Regions from separate parts of the Homo sapiens genome. Here regions 2, 3, 4 and 5 are each linked to region 1. The links are contacts of gene promoters, found by promoter capture Hi-C in blood cells and fetal thymus (Javierre and others, 2016). All regions are on one chromosome and are shown on one strand. The core of a region is centred on a gene start or on the middle of the fragment in contact, and the rest is flanking DNA. Distances in the headings are between cores, read along the strand shown. Region 1 holds the start of KCNK9 (potassium two pore domain channel subfamily K member 9). Region 2 overlaps TRAPPC9 (trafficking protein particle complex subunit 9). Region 3 overlaps TRAPPC9 (trafficking protein particle complex subunit 9). Region 4 overlaps TRAPPC9 (trafficking protein particle complex subunit 9). Region 5 overlaps TRAPPC9 (trafficking protein particle complex subunit 9).

Evidence for each region. The method cuts DNA at HindIII sites, captures the fragments that hold promoters and counts their contacts. A CHiCAGO score of 5 or more calls a contact.
Region 2: a contact is called between a fragment that was not itself captured here and the fragment with the promoter of KCNK9 in region 1, in 2 of 17 cell types (M2 macrophages and megakaryocytes). The highest score is 5.4, in M2 macrophages.
Region 3: a contact is called between a fragment that was not itself captured here and the fragment with the promoter of KCNK9 in region 1, in 3 of 17 cell types (megakaryocytes, endothelial precursors and M0 macrophages). The highest score is 6.8, in megakaryocytes.
Region 4: a fragment that was not itself captured here is called in contact with the fragment with the promoter of KCNK9 in region 1 in 2 of 17 cell types (megakaryocytes and endothelial precursors); the score reaches 7.6 in megakaryocytes.
Region 5: a contact is called between a fragment that was not itself captured here and the fragment with the promoter of KCNK9 in region 1, in 1 of 17 cell types (M2 macrophages). The highest score is 5.4, in M2 macrophages.

Annotation. Positions count from the first base shown.
Region 1 is chr8:139,701,863-139,704,375 of GRCh38, forward strand. KCNK9 (potassium two pore domain channel subfamily K member 9) reads right to left here and starts at 1,261. Exons shown (of 2, transcript NM_001282534.2): 1 at 848-1,261. The coding sequence starts at 1,130. RefSeq lists a silencer at 984-1,278. The HindIII fragment of the contact is 15,596 bases long and covers 1-2,513 here.
Region 2 is chr8:140,192,922-140,195,434 of GRCh38, forward strand. All of the region lies in intron 17 of TRAPPC9 (trafficking protein particle complex subunit 9), which reads right to left. Among named protein-coding and RNA genes, the nearest start is that of PEG13, 94 kb to the left of the region's middle. The HindIII fragment of the contact is 1,068 bases long and covers 725-1,792 here.
Region 3 is chr8:140,131,415-140,133,927 of GRCh38, forward strand. The region is part of intron 17 of TRAPPC9 (trafficking protein particle complex subunit 9); the gene reads right to left. Among named protein-coding and RNA genes, the nearest start is that of PEG13, 32 kb to the left of the region's middle. The HindIII fragment of the contact is 1,622 bases long and covers 444-2,065 here.
Region 4 is chr8:140,112,046-140,114,558 of GRCh38, forward strand. All of the region lies in intron 17 of TRAPPC9 (trafficking protein particle complex subunit 9), which reads right to left. Among named protein-coding and RNA genes, the nearest start is that of PEG13, 13 kb to the left of the region's middle. The HindIII fragment of the contact is 2,384 bases long and covers 65-2,448 here.
Region 5 is chr8:140,077,814-140,080,326 of GRCh38, forward strand. The region is part of intron 17 of TRAPPC9 (trafficking protein particle complex subunit 9); the gene reads right to left. Among named protein-coding and RNA genes, the nearest start is that of PEG13, 21 kb to the right of the region's middle. The HindIII fragment of the contact is 3,620 bases long and covers 1-2,513 here.

The sequences.
Region 1 (2,513 bases), core at 11-2,510:
GAATAGCGCCCTTGGCAGTGGGGCTGGCGGGCATCCCTGCAGTTTACCAGCTGGACCCCCTCTCGTGACTGGGGCTCAAGTTCCCTGGTTTCTGGGCAATGTCTAGACTGGCCTTTCCCAGTGTCACAGCCTAGGGAGTGGGCAGGTTCTGCCCTGCCCCCACTCTCCACCTCTACTGAGAGCAATTGAGGGGCTGCCACCCCCAACGCAAGCACCAGAGAGCAAACTCTCTCCTCCCAGGGGCCTGGGAAGTCCAAGCTCCAGAACTGGAACTCAGGGGAAAAAAGGAGCCGGGCGGGGGGAAGAGAGATGAAATCTGAGCTCAGAGAAGCCTGGAGCGGGGCCCAGGGGCTACGGAGGGTCAGTGCCTCTCACGCCCCAGGCGCACTCCCCTGCCACCTGAGTCCCTCTAGGAGCCATGGGTGCCAGGCCAGCCCTCTCCAACTCCCAGAGAGGTAGTAAGTGTAAGGCTCAGAGCCCCGCGCAGCCCAGCCCGCGCCGGGGCGGTGGGTGGGTGGGTGTCTGCTATGGGATTATTCTTAGCGCTCCACTCTCTTCGCAAAAGTGGCGCCTCCGCCCTCCCGGCTCAGGCACACTCGCTCGGGGCTCGCACGCCCGGCCCAGACACCAGCGCGGTGGAGAGCACCGGGTGGGGTCCCCGAAGGGTGAGGCTCGGAGGCGCCGCGGAGGGGGGGCTCCCTAGAGAGGAGGGGGCGCTGCGGGAAGGCCCCCAAGGGAGGCTGCGTTTAACCCTCGACGCCCTGCACCCAGCCCGGCGCGGCGCGCTCAGCCGCCTCCCCGGACTCCTCCCGGGGCGCGGGAGCCCAGCGGCGCGCCCAGCCCTTACCTATGGTGGTGATGACCGTGATCGCAAAGTAGAAGGAGCCGGCGAATTTCCACTGGACGCCGGCGCGGTGCGGTTCCGACTGCAGGATCACCAGCTCCAGCTGCCGGTAGTCCTCGCTGCTGATGTTGTACTTCCCCTTGATCCGGATCTCCTCGGCTTTGAGTTTCTCCTCCTCGCGCATCTCGTGGTCCGACTCGAGGGCGTCGAACACGGCGGCGCCCACCAGCAGGTAGGTGAAGGTGCAGACGATGAGGGACAGAGTCCGCACGTTCTGCCTCTTCATGGCCGCCAGCAAGGAGCCGGCGCGGGGGGCATGTCCCGCAGGCTCACAGCCGCGCGCGTCCCACTGCAGCGCCCGGCGGCCGCCGCCGCCTCCTCCTCCGCCGCCGCCGCCGCCGCCTCCAAGTTGTAAGCGGCGGCGGCAGCAGCAGCAGCAGCAGCGGGGAGGCGGGGGGCGGGGAGGCTGGGGGGGGCCCCCTCCGCTGGGGCCGCCACAGCCACCGCCACCGCGAGGCGGCTGGCGGGGCAGGGGCGGCGCGGGCCCGGGCTCAGCCGAGAAGGCGGACAGGCACAGGAGGCTGCTCGAGCGCCGGGGCCAGGCGTCCGGGAACCCCGACACCCTGCGCCAGACCCGGCCGAAGCAGCCCGCCCCACTGCGCAGGGCCATGCAGGGCGGCCCCGCTGGGTACCGCGCGGGCCTTGCTGCCCTCCGCACCCCGCCCCCCGCTCCCGCGGGAAACGCAGGGACGGGAACCGGAGCCAGAAAGCGGCCGGAGGGCGGCCGCGGGGCCCGGTACCCCTGTGGGTCCAGCTCGCGGGTGGCGGTGCCCAGCAAGGAGCCTGCAGGTCCGCGCGCCCAGCGGAACCTGCTTCCCCTTTTACCCCTCCTCGCCCCCTCTCGGTGGTGGGGAGGAAAAGTTTGCGAAGTGGCGGTGTCTCTGGAGTCCCCTGCAAGCGGGGAGGGGGCCGAGCAGGTGCAGCGGGAGGGGCAGCCCGCTCCCCAAAGGTCCGCGCGCCCAGCGCCCACCCGGGCGCGCGGGTGCGCAGCGGGGTCCCCGCCGGGCGTCGGCCGGTGCGCGAAGTTTGCTCGGCTCAACCCCCAAGGCGCGGGAGCGGGGCGCGGCCCCAGGACGGCAGGGACCGCGATGGAGCGGCTTCGGGGGCGGCCGGGGGACGGCGCGGTGGCGGTCGGCCAGCCCGCTCCTCCGGGGGCGGCGGGCGCGGCGGCGGCGGCGGGAGGGGTCCCGCGGGCCTCGCGGAGCAGCGGGGCGGACGCGGGCGCATGAGCCGCGCGGGGGTCGGGGCCCTCCGGCGTCCGGGCGTCCCGGGAGGCGGCCGCCGCGCTGGTCTGCCCCGGGCGCTACGTGCGTGCGCGCCGTTGGGAGCCCGAATGTGTGTGTGCGCGTGTGTATGTGCGTGTGTGTGTGTGTGTGTGTGTGCGCTTGGCAGCCCCGCTCCGGCGGGAGGGCCTCGGGGAGCGGGGGCCGGGCTACGCCGAGGCCGGGCCTCCCTCCCTCCCTCCCTCCCGCAGCCTCCAGGGCGCGCCACCTCCCGCCTGGTCCCCAGCCAGCTGGCGAGGCTGCTGTGGCAGCTCCCGCTGCAGACCCAGCGCGGCGCAGGGCGCACGCGGAGGGAGCCCGGGAGGGGCGGCCTGAGCCGCCAGGGA
Region 2 (2,513 bases), core at 9-2,508, 490 kb after region 1:
CATCCACCATCACACCCGGCTAATTTTTGTATTTTGAGTGGAGATAGGGTTTCACCATGTTGGTCAGGCTGGTCTCCTGACCTCAAGTGATCCGCCCGCCTCGGCCTCCTAAAGTGCTGGGATTACAGATGTGAGCCACCATGCCCAGCTGAATGGCTGTTTAAATCTTGCAGAAGTAAAACAAGTATTTCACTGGGGAAAGACAGGTTTCAAACACCTCTGCCACATATACCTTCATTCCAGAGTTGCTTGGAGGAAATTTTCTAAATAATCTTTCAAATCCCTGGCTCATCAATCTAAAATGTGAAAATGTGTTCTGAAGTGCTTTTCTACTGGAGATATTGGCTATTTCCCCCACGGGAATAAATTTAAATTACACACTTAGAACTAAGGCCTAGATTCTTGCAGATCTAAGCTTTAAAATCATGAACACGAATTTCACCCAAACTGAGTGACCTGCCTTCAGAATAGGGAGAAGCTTCATGTTGTAGGCATTGCAAAGCCTAGCTTCTTACCTGAGTCAGCTGAATGTAAGTCTTGGATATAAATCTTCAAAGTTGAGCTGAAAACATATACTAGCACAAACTGTCCATTTTTTATATCACTGGCAAGTTTAAGAAGTTCAGATTTGAGCCAGAAGGAAAGAAATGACACTCTCCCACAAAGTTCCATAAGGGCAGAAGGGATCTTTGTACTTTCAGAAAAAAAAAAAAAAAAAAAAAAAAGCTTGGTTGGTAATTGTGCCTACTGCTAGAAAGTCCACTGGAAAGGCTGAAACCAGTCCACAGGAGGCCCGCTGTGCTAATGGGAAGAGCATGCACTTTGAGGTCAGGTGACCAAGGCCACCTCCAAGCTGTGCGATTGTGGACAAACTATCGCTGCAAATGAAGACTGTAATACCTATCTTTCAGGGCTGGTCTGAGAATGACTAGCAATGCATGCAAAGCACTCAGCACAGTGCCCAACGCAAAGAAGGCTCCCAGTATGTAGAAGCTAACACATTTTGTCATTTTGCACAAGGCAACATTCTGGGAAAAGTCCAAAAAGCAGATTCAGAAAACACAGGGTCCAGTCCCAGCTCCAGTGCTTCCTTGGAGCCACAAATTCTAATCCCGGTTTTAATCCATCATTGTAACCCTAGCGCTCCCAGGGTTGAACTCTCTGAAAATTAATTCCATCCAGACATTCTACTGCTTAAAACCCCCAGGACCACCCATTTAAAATCTAAACTCCTTAGTATGGCAAAGGCCCCTGTCTATCTTTTCCGCCTCTACATTCACTGTCCTCCTTTCTCTGCCTTCCTAACTCCTCCTATCCAGTCTCTCCCCAGCCCGCACCCCTTCACACCCCACCCACAGTCATCCCCCTCCCTCAGTATGATCTCTCTTGGATACCAAAACTGCTCAAGTCCCTGATATAAAATAGCACATCTGTATATAACCCATGCACATCCTTCTGTATAACTTACTCTCTAGATTTATTATACCTAATAAAATGTAAATGCTATGTAAATAGTTATATTGTATTATTTAGGAACTAATGATAGGAAAAATGTCTGTACATGTTCAGTACAGATGCAGTTTTTTTGCTTGAATACTTTCAATCCAAGGTCGGTTGAATCCACAGCTGTGGAACCCACATGGACACAGAGGCCAACTGTAACTGAGGCTCCTGAAATACACTAGGCACATTCTGTGCCTGGACCTAGGGCACTCGCTGACTGGAAGGTCCCAAAGGAACCTCAATACCTACTCATCTTTCAATACCCAGCTCTGGTATCAACTGTCTTTGAAGCTTTAAAATCCCTATGAGCATTTGTATGCCTACACTTACACACCCCTGACCATGTATTCTTCACAGATCACACCTGTGACACTAAAACACACTCAACAACCTATCGTACAGCTCACACCTCTGACCACTAAAACACACTCAAAGACCCACCATACAGATCGCACCTGTGACACTAAAACATAGTCAATGATCCACTATACAGCTCACACCTGTGACACTAAAACACATTCAACGATCCACTGTACAGATCACACCTGTGACACTAAAACACACTCAAGGTTCTACTGTACAGATCACACCTGTGACACTAAAAGACACTCAATGATCCACTGTACAGATCACGCCTGTGACACTAAAACACACTCAAGGATCCACCATACAGATCATACCTGTGAAACTAAAACACACTCAACGATCCACTGTACAGATCACACCTGTGACACTAAAACACACTCAAGGATCCACCGAACAGATCATACCTGTGAAACTAAAACACACTCAATGATCCACCGTACAGATAACACCTGTGACACTAAAACACACAACGATCCATCATACAGATCACACCTGTGACACCAAAACACACTCAACGATCCATCGTACAGATCACACCTGTAACACTAAAACACACTCAATGATCCACTGTACAGATCACACCTGTGATACTAAAACACTCAATGATCCATTGTACAGATCGCATCTGTGACACTAAAAAACAC
Region 3 (2,513 bases), core at 5-2,504, 430 kb after region 1:
TAAGGCTTTCTCATAGACATAGTTCATCTGGCCCCTGCAACAGCCCCCTGAGGAAGAAAAGAGATGAGCACGAACCTCCAACTACATCCAGAGAATGCCAGGCTCAGAGGCTCAGTGATGCGCCAGGCCTCCTGGCTGCCAAGGGGTGCGGCTCTGTGGTGGAAACTGCACACCGCTTCTCCTAGACGGCCCCGTCCTAGACAACCCTGCCACCGAAAAATGAAGCACTGACTTTTTCTCCCCTCAGGGTTCAAACCCAAGACCTGTTCTTTCACAAAGAACCTTGAGGGAACAAAGGCTTGAGGGCGAGTCGCCTGGTGGTCCTCTCCATCCAGACAATCCAGGGCTCCCAGACAACTCCTCACTCACACACATTCAGTAACATCTCACCGACTTCAAGGTTTAGCAAAAAGTCCACCAAAGCTCTTCCTAATCTGGCCTAAAGCTTACAGTTGGCTCCAGCCTCACATCCTAGAAGGGTTTGGAGTCAGCCCTCTTCCCAGGGGACCGAGGGGACCGCTGTCCCTGCACCTTACTGGATGCAGCATGAACTTTCACAGTCGGCCCCCCAATGAGGACATCTCTCACCCCTTCAGCCACAGAATTCCAGCTTGCCCTGAAGGCCACGTAGTCCCTGCTCTCCGGATCCTCCCTGGTCACACCTCTGCTGTCACCTTCCATGCTATGCCAAGACAGCCATCCCCAATCAAGACCCTGTTGCCTGGAAACTAAATAGGGGTAGTGACTGATGGGGACTTTCTCATCTCTGCACCCAGGGTCCAGCACAGCACAGTCCTCCGTCCAAAGGCTGCAGAAGTTGGTGCCTCCAAAACAACGTGCTCCTTGGACTTTCCCTTTGTAAGAAGTGTTTATACTCAGAAGAGGAAAAGGCCATTAAAAAGGGGCCGAAACCACGTAAGACTTCATTTCTAATCTTGACACCCACGGGTCTTTTTATTTGCCAGAGGCGTTTGTAAAACAGCATGATTTTCTCTCATATTATTTTATTATCACCCAAACCTCAGCCTCAGTAGATTGCCATCATCTTCCCTGTTTCCACTGTGAGTCACTGAGAAATGAGATTAGGGCTTTACTTTCACCACTGCAGCTTCACTCCATCAAGCCCACCAACGCAGAGCTTGACACAAACACAGAACAAACAGCAGTCCCCACGCAGACGGCGGGGCCTCCTAATCCCTCCAACAAGCACTCACCAAGTGAACCGAAAAGACCTTAGCCCTGGAGACCTCGGTCTAGTGGGCAAGAGAGATAGGACACAAGACAATGACAAGACGCTGATGAGGACAGGGTCATGCAGAATGCCTGGGAAAGGTGCAAGTGGGAGGCTCAGAATAACCTTCCAAGAGGAGGCCAAGTCGGAGGAGGAGGAGGAGGAAACAGGAAAGGGGAGAAATCCTTGATGGTGGACACAGCAGCAAGTGCTAAGGCTTGGCAGCACGCAAGAGAGGCCATGGGCACCCAAGGAACTACAAGTGGGATGGGTCATCTGAAACCTCCCTACCAGGAAGTCAAGGACTAGATGGCTTCACTAGAAAATCTGACCCAACATTTAAAGAATTAAAACCAAACCTTGTTAAACTCTCAAAAAATATAAGAGGAAGGAATGCTTCTAAACACATTCTGTAAGGCCAGCAGCATCACCCTGAAACAAGATCAAGCCAAAGACATCAGAAGAAAAGAGGAAAGCTACCAGTCTTCCTGATGGATACCGATGCAAAACCCTCAATAAAATACTAGGAAGCCAAACTGAACAGTAAACTAAAAGGACTATGTACCATGACCAAGGGGGATTTATTCCTAGAACGTAAGGATAGTTCAACATTTTTTAAAAATCAATGTGATGTACCATATTAATATAATGGAAAAGATCCACATGATCATCTCTCCTGATGCAGGAAAAATATTGACAAAATTCAACATCCTTTCACGATAAAACATAAAAATCCAACCAGCAAAACAGAAACAGAAGGGAACTCCTCAACATGATAAAGGGTATCTATGAAAAACCCACAGCTAACATCATACTCAACAGAGAAAGACTGAAAGCTTCCCCTAAGATCAGGAACAGGACAGCATGCCTGCTTTCCCCACTGCTATTCAATCCCGAATCAGAGTCTTCCTCAGAGCAATTAAACAACAAAAAGAAATAAAAGGCATCCAAATTAGAAAGGAAGAAGTAAAACTCTCTGTATTCACAGGTGACATGAGCCTACATTAGAAAATCTCAAAGAACACACAAGAAAGCTACTAGAGCTAATAAATTCAGGTAAGTTGCAAGATACAAATTCAGCACACAAAAATCTGTTGTATTTCTACACACCAGCAATGAATAATCTGAAAAGAAAATTTAGAAAGCAATTCCATTTAAAATAGTATATGGAATAATACCTAGGAATAAATTTAACCAAAGAGGTAAAAGACTTGTACACTACAAATTACAAAACATTGCTTGAAAAAAAAAAGGATGACCTAAATAAATGGCAGACATCCCA
Region 4 (2,513 bases), core at 7-2,506, 410 kb after region 1:
CCTTCATCAACTTGGCCACTTTCATAAACAGAGGAGGAATAATAATACTGACATGTCAACGGGAAGCTTTGGCTCGCCTTGCCTTGGGCACGAGGAGAGTAATGGAGAATTCCAGACGATGGTGCGACAGGTGCAAGGAGAGTAATGGAGAATTCCAGACGATGGTGGGACAGGTGGGAGGAGAGTAATGGAGAATTCCAGACGATGGTGGGACAGGTGCGAGGAGAGTAATGGAGAATTCCAGATGATGGTGGGACAGGTGCGAGGAGAGTAATGAAGAATTCCAGACGATGGTGGGACAGGTGCGAGGAGAGGAATGGAGAATTCCAGACGATGGTGGGACAGGTGTGAGGAGAGTAATGGAGAATTCCAGACGATGGTGGGACAGGTGCGAGGAGAGTAATGGAGAATTCCAGACGATGGTGGACAGGTGTGAGAAGAGTAATGGAGAATTCCAGATAATGTCAGAGCTCCCGACCAGTAAGCCTCCATTTCATGTCAGGCACCAGGCTGGACGCTGGAGATGCATGATTTTTCATCCTCTCAAGAGATCTATGAACTGTCCCCATCTTTACAGAAGAAACTGCAGGTCAGAGCCGGTGGGTTCGTCATTATCTCCTAGTCTCATAACATCCTGTCAGATAGAATGGCCACATTCACAGGTGGAGACATTCTGCTTAGAGGCCCCTTTTAATAGGTGGCCTTGCAGATCATGAGCTGCAATTCAAACCCAGGTCTGTCTGGTTTGGGTTTGCATCATGCTATATCCTAGACATATCACTATTTTTTAATTTCCTTTTTTTTTTTTTTTTTGAAATGGAGTCTCGCTCTGTCACCCAGTCTGAAGTGCAGTGGCGCAAACTCAGGTCACTGCAACCTCCGCCTCCTGGTTCAAGGGATTCTCCTACCTCAGCCTCCTGAGTAGCTGGGACTACAGGCATGAGCCACTGCAGCCAGCCTAAATTCCTCTTTTCTTGACATCAAAAAAAAATTCTTCCACATAATTTTTCCTTTGCTTACTTATATATGAGAGAGCAGTTGGGAATTTCAGGGGTTGGAAATATGTCTAGTATTATGTGGGGAGCAGAGAGATTGGTGAAGAAAGTAAAGAGCACAGGCCCAGCAGTGACTTATGTCCTGTGAAGTTTCGACAAATAGAACATAGTCCCCTGGACAGAGGGTGCTTCATTTCAGGGAGATTGACACAAGCAGCGCCATCCCAGGCAGCATGTGCTGCATCATGGGGAGGCTGAAGCCCGCTCTCAAACTCATAGCGGCAGGGACGGTATTTCCAGCAGGACCATCAGGAAAGTGTCCAGAAGCAGGCAGCACACAGAAGGTGGGCCTTTGAGAATGAAATGACACAGATGTTTGCCATCACTTACCATGGCAGGATGAACTGTTTTAAAACAGCAAAAATGTCGGGTGGTGATTTCTATGTCAAGGATGGGGAGAGAGACCACCCTTTCCCGGCTTCAGGGTTGCAGGAGCAGGCACCTGCCTGGCCACTCACTGCTCAGAGGGAGTCCTGGGCGTGGAGAAGTCAGGGAGGAGACGCCAGGCAGACTCAGCGGGGACCCTCCACTGTGAACCTGGGCTCTGCCTGTCCGTAGGAAGCAACTTCCACTTCCTACGCCCCAAGTCACAAAGAGGCAGGTTCCTCAAGTTTTGGGGGATAAGTTCAAGTCCAGGGAGTCTCCGCAAGCCCATGTGAGTAGAACTGATCCACCGAATTCTTCACTGCCAACTTGATGACTGGTGCACATACAGTTTTCACCTCCCAACCTTTAATTGGCCCTCAACTCAAAAGACCCTCTACATGTCCACATTAGAGTCCCTGACACAATCAAAGCCTGTGAAGCTGCACCCACGCTTCCCACTCGATCGGAAAGTCAGGCCTGCTCATCTGCGGAACTTCTGGCTCATTTATGTAAGAGCTGCCTCGAAGTCTCTGATCAGAATTGACTGCTTCCATAATCCCTCCCTAAGCCCTTCCTTTGAGTGAGGTGGCCTCTTGCATACTTCAACAGCACCCAGTATGCACCTCCAGTAGCATAGCTGGTAGCTGGTCTGAGTTCCTCACAAAACTCACTCTGCTTCCGAGCGGGGACTGTTATTCCTGTTTCCAATCCCCTCACCTAAACTAACACCTCCAGGTCAGAAGGCTGTCCTTACATTTGAGGAGTAAATGGAACACCACCCCCAGGCCATATATCCAGCGAGTCAGTCAACAATGAATGTCTCTATGTGCCTAGTGATGGGTTCATAAGGACGAAAAGGACTGAAGAAAAAAAAAAAAAAAAAAACCTCACAAAAGAAAATATTCCTAACAGCAACTGCTGACGTTGCAAAAGACACATGGTACTTTAGGCCCATGTAGTCCAAAGTAGAAATCTGATATCATAATGTCATTAATTTGACTGTTCTCTTCGACAAAAATTTGAATTAAGCTTGATCAGAAAGATGACATTAATGTAGCCATCCTTGGCACCTGATGGTAAAATCTTTAATCC
Region 5 (2,513 bases), core at 7-2,506, 380 kb after region 1:
GAAAGCTGCAGGACCGCAGGGCCAGAACAAGAGAAACCTGGGAGAGGAGATGGAAAAGGCTGCGTGGCCCCAGATAGAAAAGTCCAGCATGGACAATCGTGATGTTTCTTATGGAAAAACATGACTTTCCTCAGAAAATGGAGAACTTTATCCTGCATTTGTCATGGAGATAAAATAATTAGATACAAAGTGTGAAAAACCAGTAACACTAGTAGAAACACTGCAAGGCAAACTGTCTTCAAAGCATGCAGTTCATCTCCATTTAACTGGAAATTACTGTGAAAGAAAGAAAAACTGTCCCAGAATCAGCTTCCAGACAAGAAAGAACCTGTTCCAAACCATCTCTTCATGCTTTTCTCTGCGTTCAAATTGCAAAAATACAAAGTTGTATAGAATTTTGGAAGAACTTTTCAGAGAACATTTCATTTTAACAAAAGGCAAGGAGAAAACTGCAAAAGTGCTTGTGGTTTTATAGCAGTGCCATGGGAAGACACTGCTGTTATGCTGAGAGAAGGTAAGTCACGCAGGAGTGGCTGGACTCAAGTTCAAGCCCAGGCTTTTCAGCACTCTTTGATCCCACCAAAATCTTGGCCTCAGGCAGGGAGGGTGGAGTGGCAACTGCACTGGATGGAGGCTTAGTGAGGTACATGGCTGAACACGGGGGAGGGCTTCCAGATATGGGACAGAAGGCCAGAGGTGGGATGGGGCAGGGATGAATGGATGGAAAAGAGCTTCCTAGGTGGGGAAAGGAAATTATTCTAGGAACTGAAGGCAGTATGGGCAAAAACATGAATCACAAGGACAAAGAGGGGTCTGATAGAGGAACTGCACCCACTTTAAGAAGAGGCAGCTCAGGGTTGAGAATGTGTCATCTTCTGAGGAGCCCATGCAGGAACTGAGAGGATGTCACATGCAGGTACACAGGAGCCACAGTCCCAAACTCAGAGGTCTGCACTCTAACACCAGGTCAGCCACCTCCCCTCCCTGCCCCCAGTCACCACCAGTCAACAGGGGGCCTACCCAGCAATGGCTCAAGGCTTTTCAACTCTGACATTCCTAAAGCTGGATGGATCCTATCATCTCTCCAGCAACTGTACAGCTTTCCAGTGATATGGTTTGGCTGTGTCCCCACCCAAATCTTATCTTGAATTGTAGCTCCCATAATTCCCATGGGAATTATGTCATGGGAGGGACCCAGTGGGAGGTAACTGAATCATAGGGGTGGGTATTTCCAATGCTGTTTTCGTGATGGTGAATAAGTCTCACGAGATCTGATGGTTTTATAAAGGACTGTTCCCCTGCACATGCTCTCTTGCCTGCTGCCATGTAAGACGTGACTTTGTTCCTCATTCACCTTCTGCCATGATTATGAAGTCTCCCCAGCAATGTGGAACTGTGAGTCCATTAAACCTCTTTCCTTTATAAATTACTCAGTCTCGGGTATGTCTTTATTAGCAGAGTGAGAACAGACTAATACAGATGGCCAGAAGCAACAAAGAATCTGAGAAGAGTTCAGACTTTGAATGGGTGACACTTAGTTCACTCTTGGTTCTGCTCCTTTAACAGGTGTTTGAATTTGGCAAGTTCCTTAACTTGATGAGGCCCCAGAGAAGTAAGATAACACTCCCCTGGAAAGTGCCTCCAGGACCAGAGAGGCCACAAGCAGCGGCTCCAGCAGAAAAGAGGCACCTGCAGAAGGGCAGTGAAGTTTGTTCATATTTATTACAAGTGCTCTCCCTACACCCAAGGACCTGGACTATTGTTCTCCCCACTTTATAACTACAGTGGCACACTGGCAACAAAAACGTCTAATTGTGCATAATAATAAAAAGGCAGGCCAGGCATGGTGGCTCATGCCTGCAATCCCAGCACTTTGGGAGGCCAAGAGGGCGGATTGCTTGAGGTCAGGAGTTTGAGACCAGCCTGCCCAACGTGGCAAAACTCCATTTCTACTAAAAATACAAAAATTGGCCAAGCGTGGTGGTAGATGCCTGTAATCCCAGCTACTCAGGAGGCTGAGCCAGGAGAATCGCTTGAACCTGGGAAGTGGAGGTTGCAGTGAGCCAAGATTGCACCACTGCACTCCAGCCTGGGCGAGAGAGCACAATTCTGTCTCAAAATAATAATAATAATGATAATAATAAAAATGAAGAAGAAGGAGGAGGAGGAGGAGGGGAAGAAGAAGGCGATGGCATCACTTTCCCCTGGTCAGATGTTATTTCAGCTCAAAGTTTGCTTTAAGAAATGACACCTTGGAATTAACCCTGTTTCATCAAAAGGCCAAGATTCCCAAGAAGAGATGTTGAATGATCCAGGGGAATCAAGTACATACAAGGTCATAGAAGGCACATACATGGTCAGTGATGAACATTCCATATCATGTGTGGGTCTGTAATAGTTCTCCCTGTAACTTAACACTCAGCACTGTGGAAATTGAGAACCACATGAGTAAACTTTCTTTCACTTGTGATGCACAACAGCTAACAGTACAAAACACCACGCCACACTCATTC